Linked DNA regions of Homo sapiens: region 2 is linked to region 1. The links are contacts of gene promoters, found by promoter capture Hi-C in human tissues and cell types (Jung and others, 2019). All regions are on one chromosome and are shown on one strand. The core of a region is centred on a gene start or on the middle of the fragment in contact, and the rest is flanking DNA. Distances in the headings are between cores, read along the strand shown.

Evidence for each region. The method cuts DNA at HindIII sites, captures the fragments that hold promoters and counts their contacts. A contact is called where the count stands out against the background at its distance.
Region 2: a fragment that was not itself captured here is called in contact with the fragment with the promoter of GPR156 in region 1 in 1 of the 25 tissues and cell types used here (aorta).

What each region holds. Positions count from the first base shown.
Region 1 is chr3:120,282,329-120,289,010 of GRCh38, forward strand. GPR156 (G protein-coupled receptor 156) reads right to left here and starts at 2,894. Exons shown (of 10, transcript NM_153002.3): 1 at 2,701-2,894. LOC124909418 (a long non-coding RNA gene) reads left to right here and starts at 2,828. Exons shown (of 2, transcript XR_007096029.1): 1 at 2,828-4,809; 2 at 5,934-6,682. The HindIII fragment of the contact is 13,353 bases long and covers 1-5,474 here.
Region 2 is chr3:120,096,068-120,102,749 of GRCh38, forward strand. The region is part of intron 1 of GSK3B-DT (GSK3B divergent transcript); the gene reads left to right. Among named protein-coding and RNA genes, the nearest start is that of GSK3B-DT, 4.3 kb to the left of the region's middle. The HindIII fragment of the contact is 4,861 bases long and covers 1-4,137 here.

The DNA.
Region 1 (6,682 bases), core at 1,644-4,143:
GTATTTTACCAAGGGTTCTGCCACCCTTATGGGAGTCAATGCCTTATTTGTGTAATTTAGTTACCTAATTAATCCAACAGTTATTTATTAATTGCTCATAATATACCAAATAGGAACACAGCCATAAATAAGACAAAAAAATTCCTTGTCTTGATGGAGTTTACATTAGAGTGGGGAACATGCCCAATTAACAAGGAAACACATATACTATATAGTGTCAGGGAGTGCTAAGTGCCATGAAGAAGGATAAAGCAGGGTCAGAAGACAGGGAGTGACCACAGGCTGTTTTAGATCAGGTGGCCATCATTCTGGAGAGTATGAAAAGAAACTGGAATGAGCTGAGAAAAGAAGCAGTGGCAGTGTCTGAAGGAAGAGTGTTCAGGCAGAGGGAAGAGCAAGGACGATGGTAAGCAAGAGGACGGCCATAGAATATGAGGGCACCAGACCAAATCACAAGCCCTGGTGGAGAGTTGAATGTTATTCACAGTGTGAGGGGAAGCCATTGGAGGGTGTTAAGCAGGAGAGTAATATCATCCAACTGACTGACATTTTAAGAATGGGAAAAAGAAGGCAGTTAAGGGGTCTGCTCAAGATTCTTATGGGAAAGTCAGAAGAATAAGATCCATATTTTTTTCTTAAAATGTTAATATCCTTCACACATCTATATTTGAAACACCTTCTGATTCAAGCTCTGTCCAGGACCAGATCACATATGTCTGGATTCTAAACACTGATTTTTATTAACAAGTTTGTTTTAAGATAATAAGTTTATAAAATGAGAGGTAGAAAACATCTCTGTATGTCTAAAATTTTTCATAATAAAGTACTGGAGAAAAAAAGGTGAGATAGTGATTTGCATCCTTTATCAGGCAAAATTCATCAGCAACTAAACATGAATGTTCTGATTCTCAAGACCTTTGCAAAATAAAGGCTCTGATTTTTTTTTTTCAACTAAATGTAGAACATTTCTTTCAACCCCCAAATCCACCTTTGCAGCCCAAGTCAGTCCACGTTGCACTGTTTCTGCAGCATGTCAGAGCCTCTGGCTTCTTTCCTCTCTCCCCCTTCCCCCAATTAATCTCTGAAACCTACATAAGAATGGAATAAAATGCAAATTCAAGGAGAAGGATGCAGTTTTCAGAGAAGGCCTCATCCTCCTCCTACCCTATAATGGAAATTCCCTTATGGTTAAACAACAAAAATGGAAATATTAAAACCCTCAGCTGAAAACAAACACTTAAGCACCTATTCTCCTTTCCAGAGAATCTGTTTCCCTCAATCATTATTTTTCCACTCTTTTGAGAGCCTTCTAGGCTGAAAGTTGTTTCATCTCACCCATCTTGGGTCTCTCCTAGGTCTCATTTCTGCCTTCACCAGGCTTGAAGTTCTATATCCCTAGGCTATCAGAACTTTGACTCTGACCAGGCTCAATTCTAGACTTTACTGGGGAATGGGGAGAAGCTAAAAGCTGGGGGTGGAAGAGAAGGGGAAACAGAGGGAACATTCCAGAGACAGTAGTGTCCCTGAAGGGGAATTAGGCTGGCAAAATGGGGACCAGAAAGCCACCTCTATTCCTCACAAGGGACACCTAACTCAAGCACAGCCTGCTAAAGCACTTTATTCTCCAGACTCAAATTGCCTTAACCTGTAAGCAAACGCTTCCCCAGCCATTTATCCGCAAGCGCATTTGCCCCACCTGCAGCAATGAAAGAAGCACTGTTTTTGCAAGCCGGGCTGCTACCCAGACTGCGAGGAGACATTCTGTGCAGAATTCAGCCACTGGTGGAGAAAAAGAAGTTTTTCTTTGCAGGCCTTGCTGCCTAATACAACTATATCAACAATTTCTCCCGCTGTGTAAGCCCCATCTGAAAATCTTTCCCTTTTATCTAGGATGCAAAAATGTAATGTTATCCTCCATATTCTGGTTTAAAGAACTACACCAGGAAAGACATTTTATGATAGGCTAGGGCATCATTTACCTCTAATTCAAGCATGCATGTACCTAGAAAACTAACAAAGGGGTAAGTTATGCCATGCCATGACTTCTCTTCCCAGATTTCTATCCTGAAATCTTAACAAAATTCGATTTTAAAAACCTCAAGGTTTGTATTCTTCACGAGTACATGGATACCTTGAGTTCTACCTAGAGGCCTCTAGTTTCTGACAGAGCTAACTTGGAAAGGGCTGCTTGCCAGGGTACAAGGATGTTGCAGCTTCCAGGTGACTCCCTCATGCCCAGAAGCAAGGCAGTTCAACAGACGCAGTGCAATACAATTGTCCCTTTTCAGGACTTTGCAATCTCCATGGGGGAGCCCATCGTGCCCGCCACTCTACACCCTGGGGGTGAACATGCCCTGCAAAGCAGATTCGGCGTGAGGAGACTCTGGAAAGTCTACAGGCGGTGGGAAACTGTTTCGGGATCTCTCATTTTCAGCACAGCCGGTCGCTTATTCAGCAGAAAACCCACGGCCCCATCTTCACACCAAATTACAGTACTCTCCCGTCTCTTCCACTGAAATTGCCACTCGCATCCCTGATGCGTGACCCCTGCTCACCTCAAGTTCCTATGAGAGTTTCTTTACCGGTTCCAAACAAACTGCCCAGATTCTGGAAAGGGAGAGAAAGCCCCTCCCCCTTTCCACTTTCACTTAATAATTAAGTGTTTGAAGTTTTGTGGATCCTTAAGGTCGCTGTGCTCACCTCATCAGCGTCGGACCGCCGAGAAGCGCCAAGCCCGCTGCTATGTGCAGGACGCCCACGGTCCCCCGGCGTCTCGCGCGTTCGCGGGGCTGGAAGGGGCGGGAAGGGGCGGGCCGGGGCAGAGACAGGGGCCCGCGCCCATCGCCGCGCCGGGAGCCTGGCGTGGAGGCGGCGGGACGGCGGCGCAGGCCTCTGAGGTGTGCGCGGGGCGCCGGGCGCCTCTGGCCGGGGCACTGGCTGAGCCACGCCTGCCCGCCCCTCCCTGGCGCCGCCCGCGTGGCGCGCCTCGACCCTGCTCTCCCGCGAGGGCCGGGAGGGCTCCGGGACCTTGCAGACTCCACGCGCCTCACGGCTCCTCCAGCTCCTCGGATCTTTCTCCTTGCGTCGCCGCCGAGTCCCCTGGGGCGGCCCCGCCTCCGGCCGTCTCCTCAGAGACCTTCCCTGGGGGGCGCCTTCCCCTCAGCGCCCCTTCCCGGGCCTCGAGCCAGCGGCTGCCGCAGGAGCTGGCCCCGGGGCGAGGAGCTTCAGATTCAGGTCCCTAGCCGGCCTCGGTAAGGAGACTGGAAGGATTCTCCGCGAATGCTCATTTTTATTTCTGGAGTGGCGTCGGAGTTACCAATTAGTTTTCTTATTTTATACTCTCTGGAGTTGCCAAATTCTTTACGTTGAGCTTTTGCTTATTTTATAATCAGAAAGACAAGTACGTTTCTTTTTCCAAGAATGCTTACAGGAGGCCACAAACAAGATGTTCGCACCCAGCCCACTGTCTTCCGCTTAAAAATATGTGTGAGATGTTGTGTTTAAGACACCCTCAAGGAGAAACATAGAGGGGAGACCTGGAAATGGTCTTGGGAATCCACTTAGACTTTCCATATTATATTTGTTTCATTTATTTTAAAATCTCAGACCTATTTATGTGCATTAGGACATTCCACATTTTTACAACTGCGCAGAGGAAATCTTTGGTTGTAGAGGACGGGAAGAGAGAGGCCAGGTCCGCAGACCCCACTGTGACAAGACAGTGGCTACATTCTTAACTGTTTTACACATTGTGATACCCAAAGACTTCTTTTCACAGGATTCTACTGAGGGGGAAAACAAGAGGAAGAAAGAAAGATAGACAAGGTTTTCCTCAAGGCAGTAAGCAAAAAGCTGGTTTCTCAGAAGAAAGAATTATGTCTGAGATTTTACCCAGGACTCTCCAGATCTCTCATTCTACACAGAAGGACCCTTTCATTTGGAACGTGCAGAAACTGAGGAGGACCATCTCTCTCCTCCATGGGGGCTGCCTGAGTTAAAAAGGCCTGGGTCCATCTTTTTTCCGTAGGAGAGCTGACTTCAGAGTCTAGAGCCAAATCTTCACTTCTGTGGCTCTAGATTGAGGATTTGCCCTTCTGATCTCTGTGGGGCTTTTTTTTTTTAACCTGGGAATTCCCCTGGGCTCTTCGGCTGTTATTCTCATCAACCCCTCTCTATATTCTGCAAGACATTGAAATCTTTCTCCCAGCTTGGCCCCCACCTCCAATCCCAGTATTCTCTTTTCTGAGATTGGAGTATTTCCAACCCCTCAGTTGCCAGGCACTGAAGGTTTTCATCTTCCAGGCCTGCCATGTTTACCTCTGAGATGTTTCTGGCAACTGTCCACTTCTCTGCATTCTCACACTGCTGCTCTTGATAAGCTTCGATTATCTGGGGCTGAATTGTTTCAATAATTTCCTAACTGATTTTCTTGCCTCCTATCTGTCCCCACCACCAACATAGACTTAAGAATGTCACTCTCTTGACAAAACAAGCCAACATCCTCTATCCTCTGTCCCACTCCCAAACCTGCAGTAACTTTCCTGTGCAATTGTAATACAGTGTAAACTTTCATAAGGATGGGGAGTGGCCAAGATGGCTGACCAGAAGCAGGTAATGTACATGGCTCTCACGGAGAGGAACAGAAGGGACGAGTAGATACAACACCTTCAACTGAAACATCCGGGTACTCGCATTGGGATTAATCAAGGAAACAACCTGACCCACAGAGAACAAGGAAAAGCAAGACAGGACAACAGCCCACCTGGGAGCAACAGGGAACCAGGGGATCTTCCCCTGCCCAGGGAAGTGGTAAGTGAATGAGCGACCCCGGAAACCATGCTTCTCCCACAGATCTTTGCAACCCTCCTGTCAGGAGATCTCCTTGTGAATCCACTCCACTAGCAGCAGGGCCTTCAGTCTTCAGTCTGGCAGACAGGGCTACATGGAGTCTCAGCAAAGCAGCCACTCAGGCATGCGTGGAGACCCTGGAGGCTTAGATACTTGGGCGTTCTGGCAAAAGTAGCTGCATCTCCCACAAAGAGGGAGTTTAGACTCCCATTCATACCCCTAAGAAAGAGGCTGAATCCAGAGGGCTGAGCAGCAACAGCCCGCAGGGCCCACTTCCACAACACCTCACACAAGACAGGACCCACTGGCTTGGAATTCCACCCAGCTACCAGTAGCAACATAGCACCTGCCTAAGTAGGAGCTCCCAGGGGAGGGGTAGGCCAACATCTTTGCTGTTCAGGAGCTTTAGCTGTTCCAGCCTTCAGGGTTTGGAGAGTCTGAGACGACCTGGGGCGGTAAGGATGCCCCAGCACAGCACAGCTGCTCTACCAAAATGTGGCCAGACTGCTGCTTTAAGTGGGTGCCCAATCCCATTCCTACTCACTGGGTGTGACCTCCCAACCAGGGCCTCCAGCCACCCTGCCTGAGCTCTTCAGCTGTGACAGAGATCTGAATTCCCCCTGGGATGGCACTCTTAGAGGGAGGGATGGGCTGCCATCTTTGCTGTTTGGCTGACTTAGCTCTTCCAGCCTTTGGGTTGTAGAGTGTCTGAGGTGACCAGGAGCTGAAGTGGACCCCCAGCACAGCACAGCTGCTATACAGAAATGTGGCCAGACTGCTTTTTTAAGTGTGCCCCATCCTGTTCCTCTTCATTAGGTGGGACCTCCCAACCAGGGTCTTCAGCCACTTCCTACAGGTGCCTTTGGGCCAGCAACAGGTCCATACCTCCCTGGGACAAAGCTCCCAGGGGGAGGGACAGGCTGCCATATTTGCTGTATCATAACCTTCACTGGTGACACCTCCAAGTTCTGGAAAATCTGAGGTGACTAGGGACTGGAGCAGGCCCTAAGCATACCAGAGCAGCCCTGTAGAAAAGTGGCCAGACTGTTTCATGGGTGCCTATTCCCATATCTCCTCACTGGCAGGTCCTCCAGGCCTCGGCCTCCAGCCACTCCCCACCAGAGCTATCCAGCCAATACCAACTCAGCGACTTCCAGGACAGTGCCTCCAGGGGCAATTGAAAGGGTCTTAGCCACTGCCTCTGCTGTGGAACTCCCCTTGCCACCCTTGGACTAAAGAAGGAGCAAAGACCCTAAGTGCCTTTTCCATACCAACAAGCTGCAGTAGACCCAAGGAAAGGAGACCAGTCCATCTCCCATGTGTTCCACACTGCTCACTGGACAGGCAACCCCTGGCTTGGGTCCAAAGCACGAACCCTCCTTCTTGGGCTGATTGCACTGAGCAATTGGTAACCTGCATTTTTCTGGGGGTAGAGCCCCCAGGAGTCAAGCAAATGACTCTCGGCCACAGCACCTACTAAGATGAGCCTCTGCTACTTCTAAGCTGGGGAAGGAACATAAACACAGATCACTCCAGAGCTGCAGTGGGCAGTCCAGGGGTGCTAAGTCGTGAACTACAGCCAGCACTCAAGGGGGAGAGGAACCCACACTTTCGGAGCACTGAGAGGGAACACAGCTGCAACTGTGAAGAAACATACAGGAGCAGGAGTCTACCAATTGACCAATAAGCCTAAGTGTCACCTGCAGGATCACACCCCAAAGCTTCAACACGAAAAATATTTCACTAACATACACACCTCTGAAACCAGAGACAAGAAGTCAGCTTCAAATAAAGACCCTATAGAAAGCCTCAGCACAGTGAAAACATCCAAAAA
Region 2 (6,682 bases), core at 457-2,956, 190 kb before region 1:
TCATCTCTTTCTGTTAAGATGCTGTCTCCAGAAAGCACATGTTAAAGGACCTATATTTGATCAGATTACCTGGCTCTTGCTTTGAAACACTGATGAAGGACTTGGGACAGAACAAAGTAAGCTTTGATGGAAGACAGGAAAGGTCTAGATAGTGTTTGCAGATTCAAATGGCTACAGAGGCCAGACAAGTAAAGCAAATGAGTGAGACTGGCCTTGTGTAAGACAATGGGGAATGATAGGGAAAATGGCAAATTGGAATATCCATGCCATAACTAAAAGGAACAGCTGCTCAACTCTAGCAGATTGTTGCCCTCAGGAATGTGGGTCCAGTGTTCTCAGATGTTCAATTTTTTTCCTCCCAAAAGAAACCCCAAAATTGGATTTTTGTGTGAAATCTCTGCATTTTTAAATGTTGGTAACCAAATTTTCAAACCCTGCAGGCCAACCTAAAAACATCCCTTGGCCAATGAGGCATTGGAAAAAGTGTTAATAATTGTTAGGGGCCCGATAGCAGTAGGAGGGTGAAAACAAAATGGTTTGGGACCTTAAATAATTGAAATGTATCTTTATTTATTTATTTATTTTTGAGACGGAGTTTCACTCTTGTTGCCCAGGCTGGAGTGCAGTGGCGCGATCTCGGCTCACCGCAACCTCCGCCTCCCCGATTCAAGTGATTCTCCTGCCTCAGCCTCCCAAGTAGTTGGGATCACAGGCATGTGCCACCATGCCAGCTACTTTTGTATTTTTAGTAGAGACGGGGTTTCTTCATGTTGGTCAGGCTGGTCTCGAACTCCCGACCTCAGGTGATCTGCCTGCCTCAGCCTCACAGAGTGTCAGGATTACAGGCGTAAGCCACCACACCGGGCCGGTTGAAATTTATCTTTAAAATAGTGCACCTTTAATCCTTTTTTTATTTCTGTGTGTATCTTATAATGTGCATATCATGTTAGCTCAAGATCAAGAGTTTATGGACAAGCCAGGAGTGGTGGCTTATGACTGTAATCCCAGCAATTTGGGAGGCCGAGGCAGGTGGATCGCCTGAGGTTAGGAGTTCAAGACTAGCCTGGTCATCATGGTGAAACCCCGTCTCTACTAAAACTTTAAAACTTAGCTGGGCGTGGTGGCGGGCGTCTATAATACCAGTTACTTGGGAGGCTGAGGCAGGATAATTGCTTGAACCCAGGAGGTGGAGGTTGCAGTGAGCTGAGATCGCACCATTGCACTCCAGCCAAGGCAACAAGAGCAAAACTCCGTCTCAAAAAAAAAAAAAAAAAAAAAGTTTATGAACCACTAGTTTAGACAAAGAATAGTTGTACAGTTGTACAGATGGATAAGGAAGGAAAGAACATTCCAGGCAAAGAGAAAAGGTTATGCAATGGCTGAAATGTTTAACAAGGTATTTGGAGACCTTGAGATAGTTTGAAATTATGTAATGTCTAAGATGTGGGCCAAGAGAAAATAAAGGAAAATATCACAGGATAATAGAGGAGTAAAGTAAACTATGCTGTATTAACTCCATATTAGGCAGCCAGTAAAAATAAATACAACCACCAAAAGTAACTCAGAAATATGTTTAGGAAACAATACTAATTGAAAAATATAGAACTTCAGGTTGTATATCTACCATATTTCCAATCTGTAAAATATAAGTACATTTGGATCAAGATTGGAAAGGAAGACAAATTAGAATAACTCGTCAATAACATATTTAAATATAAATGAAAATATTTAAATGTCTTTGCTTAGTATTTTTATAATAAATTTCTATTTTTTTACTTTTATTTATCTTTTAATCTCACTGTTATCCAGGATGGAGTGCAGTAGCACAGTCATAGCTCACTATGGCCTTGAACTTCTGGGCTCAAGCAGTCCTCCCACCTCAGCCTCCTAAGTAGCTGGGATTACAGGTGTAAGCCACTGTACCCCACCTCTGTGTTTGATTTTAAGGGGAATTGGCCCAAAAAATAACATTTATATTATTTCTTCACTATGATTCACATGTCCCTCAGAAGCCTCTAATTACAATGGAATTCTTAAAAAAAATTCACATTTCTCAGCAAAGCTTTCCAACGAAAATTTTTATGATAATCCTTTGTCATATAAGTTAAAATAGTAAAACTAGACAATAGTGAGTAAGTATTATATTTGAGACACCTGCTAGGCATCTGATATAAGGTGGATGAGAGGATCAGTGTCCTTTGGGAGTTTACCCTCTAGGGAAGCAACTACATGAAAAGTTAAATAAATTATAAAAATCACATTTTGAATTGATAAAAGTTATGAGACAGAACATAATTTGGTTTTTATTTATTTTTTTGAGACAGGGTCTCACTTTGTCCTCCAGGCTGGAGTGCTGCGGCCTCAACCTCCCAGGTTCAAGGGATCCTGCTGCCTCAGCCCCCCAAGTAGCTAGGACTACAAGGGTGCACCACCACACCCAGCTAATTTTTGTATTTTTTGTATAAATGGGGTTTCGCCATGTTGCCCAGACTGGTCTCAAACTCCTGGGCTCAAAATCTGCGTGCCATGGCTTCTCAAAACGCTAGGATTACTGGCGTGAGTCACCATGCCTGGCCTATAATTTGTTAATATGGTTGTTACTACAAAGTTTAAAATAAATTGCCCATGCATTCCTATTTATAATAGGTGAGTGGAGGACACTTCAATCTAAAGTGATCTTAAAGGAGGAGTAGTAGGATTTGAAGATGAAGAAAGAAGAGGGGAGGTAAATTACTTTCCATCACTTCAATTTCAACCCATCAGATAAAACCTCTCTTTAGTAAACCTGCATGTGGGTGGAGCTGTAACAGCAATTAAGGACAGTGTGACTCTGTTCTTCTGACTTTGGGAAAACCAGTTTGGCTGGAACAAAAAGCTGATAGAGAAGACTAATGGAAGATAAGGTTGAAAAGGTAGGTTTGAGGGAGCTTTGTTACAGGAAAAAAAAAAAAAAAAAACTGGGCTTTGTCCTGTAGACAGTGGAGAGGTACTTTAGCAGATGTAAGACATTACCATTATAGGAAAGCCTCTGAAGTAACATACACTGTGGTTTTTCCTGTTGCTGAAAATATGCCCAGAGTAACAAGATGTGGCATAGTTGGTTATGTGTCTTATAACCAGTGAGGTGTGCCCAAATGGGAAATTAATGAATGACTACCCAAAAAGAAGAGGGAGAGTGTTTGAAACACTGTCACTGTGAAATAGACTGGTTGTATGAAAAGTTGCATATCAAGCCTTTGGCAAATTATATAAATACTCTGATTTTGACATCTTAAAGGAGTATACTATAGAAAATAAAAGAAAAACACTTGAATCTGTTACAGGAAACGGGTCATGATCCAGACCCCAGGAGAGGGTTCTTGGATCTCACACAAGAAAGAATTCAGGGTGACCCCACAGTGCAAAAGTCAAAGCAAGTATTAAGAAAATGAAGGAATAACAGAATGGCTACTACATAGAGCAGCCCTGAGGGCTGCTGGTTGCCCTTTTTTTTTTTTCCTTTGAGATGGAGTTTTCGTTCTTGTTGCCCAGGCTGGAGTGCAATGGCGTGATCTCGGCTCACCACAACCTCCACCTCCCAGGTTCAAGCAATTCTGCCTCAGCCTCCCGAGTAGCTGAGATTACAGGCATGCGCCACCACGCCCGGCTAATTTTGTGTTTTTAGTAGAGTGAGGGTTTCTCCATGTTGGTCAGGTTGGTCTTGAACTTCCGACCTCAGTTGATCTGCCCGCCTTGGCCTCCCAAAGTACTGGGATTACAGGCATAAGCCACCGCACCTGGCCTGGTTGCCCATTCTTTATGGTCGTTTCTTGATGATATGCTAACCAAGGAGTGGATTAATCATGCCTCCCCTTTTTGGACCACATAGGGTCTAAACTGTCATGGCACATTTGTAAACTGTCATGGCACTGGTGGGAGTGTAGCAGTGAGGACGACCAGAGGTCACTCTCGTCGCCATTTTGGTTTTGGTGGGTTTTGGCCAGCTCCTTTACTGCAACCTGTTTTATCAGCAAGGTCTTTAAGACCTGTATTTTGTGCTGACCTCCTATCTCATCCTGTGACTTAGAATGCCTTAACTGACCATCTGGGAATGCAGCCCAATAGATTTCACCCTCATTTTGCCCGGCTCCTGTTTAAGATGGAGTTGCTCTGGTTCACATGCCTCTAACAAATCCTTTTAGTTTTTCATGCTTGTCACATGTTTACTTCTAAGGGTATAATCATGTGGTTTACTATATTATTACCGATTAGATTATTTTGAACTACTTCAATTTTATTTATTTTACCTCATTTCCATTCACATTTTTTGAAAAGAGCTTTTTTATACAAGAGTGTAAATATTTTCACATTGAATAAATGAATTGAAAACAGTATGTGTTGATTGAATACTTGAAGTATACTTCTTTACAGCAAATTCTAGGAATTCAGCTTTGTTTTATGTGCATTAAAATGTAATAAATATAGGCCTGAGAAATTCTCAGAACAAATATTTTAGGCCCTCAGTAGCTGTAAATCGGGAACGGTCAGATTTCCTTCACATGGAAATGGGACTCACATCTCTCAGAATGGAACAGAAGTCTTTTGGTCTTTAATCTATGTCATGTTGATGGGAAATGTGAAAGCTACAAGAAAATTGGTATTTGGTTTCTTGGATATTGAATATCCTTGGCCAGGGGTGCAGGGAAGTGAAAAAAAAGTAAGACCTCCTATGGATCATCCAAAAAGGAATTTCAGAATGCAGAGAGGACTGGTCTCCCTTAATCAGGCCAAAACTTTATTTGAATTGTATCAGGATGCTTCATTCCTGTGCCCTGTAGGATGGAATCTTGAAAGAAAATGGGAAGGAATGTACAAAGCCTCAAGGAATGTGTTTCTCTGTAACATCTAGATCAGACAGTAGTATGAAGTGCCAGATATGAAACCAGAAAGGATCCTTATGAGAGTTTATAGCTCAGTTTTAAGATGTTTTACTATCTCTGCTGTCTTATTTTTTTATTTTTATTTTTAGAGATGGGGTCTCGCTCTGCTGCCCAGGCTGGAGTGCAGTGGTGTGATCATAGCTCACTGCAACCTCAAACTCCTGGGCTCAGGTCAACCCTCCTGCCTCAGCCATGCCCTGCCACTGCCCCCTTCCCCCGCAGTAGCTGGGGCTACAAGTGCATGCCACCACACCCAGCTATTTTAATTACTTTGTAGAGACAGGGTCTTGCCATGTTGTCCAGGCTGGTGCTGTTGTTCTTTATTTTTACAATGTATATTGTGTATGCACTAGTAGTGTTCAGTACTTGAAGATAAAAGTAGTAATTTAGGAAAAATAACCATTATTCCCCTAACTAAATCTTGCTACTCTTAGGACCAGTTAGGAGTCTTAGGAAAATATCAACTCTGATTGTTTTTTCTTTTCTGTTTGTTTGTTTTTATTGTTGTTGTTATTGTTTAGATAATTTGTTGCTCTGTCACCCAGGCTGGAGTGCAGATGTGTGATCATGGCTCACTGCAGCCTACCTCCAGGGATAAAGCAATCCTCCCGCCTTAGCCTCCCAAGTAGCTGGGACTTACAGGCACACAACTGACCTAGCTAATTTTTTTATTTTTGTAAAGGCAGAGGTCTTCCTACGTTGTCCAGACTGGTCTTGAACTCCTGGCCTCAAGCAATCCTCCCACCTTGGCCCCCAGAGTGCTGGGATTACAGGTGTGAGCCACTATACCCAGTCTGGTTTTTTTTCTTTTTTTTTTTTTTTTTTTTTTTTTTGAGGACTCAACATGTCCGAGACAGTTGAGTACACTTCTACTTTCTCTAACCACTTCTTGACAATTTGAATACAGTTTTCATTTTTAGTCTTCTTATCAAAAGTGTTCCAATTGTACTTTTTATCCTTAAGGACTTTAAATATGATTATATAGAATTTCATAAATTTTGCTGGCCTGTGTTGGACAACACATGAAAAGACACGAATATCCTAATTCCACCAGGAAGTGCTTGTTGTCTACTGTGTGCCCAGGTCTGTGCCACATATGGTGGGAAACATTTGCTTGCAACAAATTGAGAAAACTGCTGTATATGCTTTAAAACCTAACTGGTTTATTCAACTGCATTTTAAAAATATTTCCAAGGCCAAAGGCTCTTGGACCCTTTTAGAATTAAAAACAAATATCTTACACAGCCATATCAGCTGGAACTCTGAGGAAGCAAACTATCCTATGGAGGTTAAGCTTTTAATCTGGCATGAGAGGAGTTAAAGTGAAGTACTTCTAAGCACCAGAGAAACCATCTAGTGGGAAAAAAAGAATTCATCAACAGGGAGTTGCCAAATGAGGACACGCACATGCTTTGCCTTCATTATCTAACTTTCTTCCAGTATAAATAGAATTACATGGAGGTGTAAGGCATTTCTCTTGATCTCAGTCAATGCTGTGCACATCGTGGGAACTCAGTAAATGTTGGCAAAATGAGTAGTGTGATTGTAATTGAAAAAGCGAAACAATTATAACCATCAAAATTACAACTTTATAAAATATCTGCATATGGACAAGCACTCTGAGAAAATACTCCCCCCAAAAAAGTTGTTTTATTAATTTTTTAGTTTTCTGAATTTTTTCTTACATTAATTTTTTTCCTATTATCGGTTCTACAATATAATTTGAGTATCAAAATTTCTTAATTAGATGCATTCAAATAGAA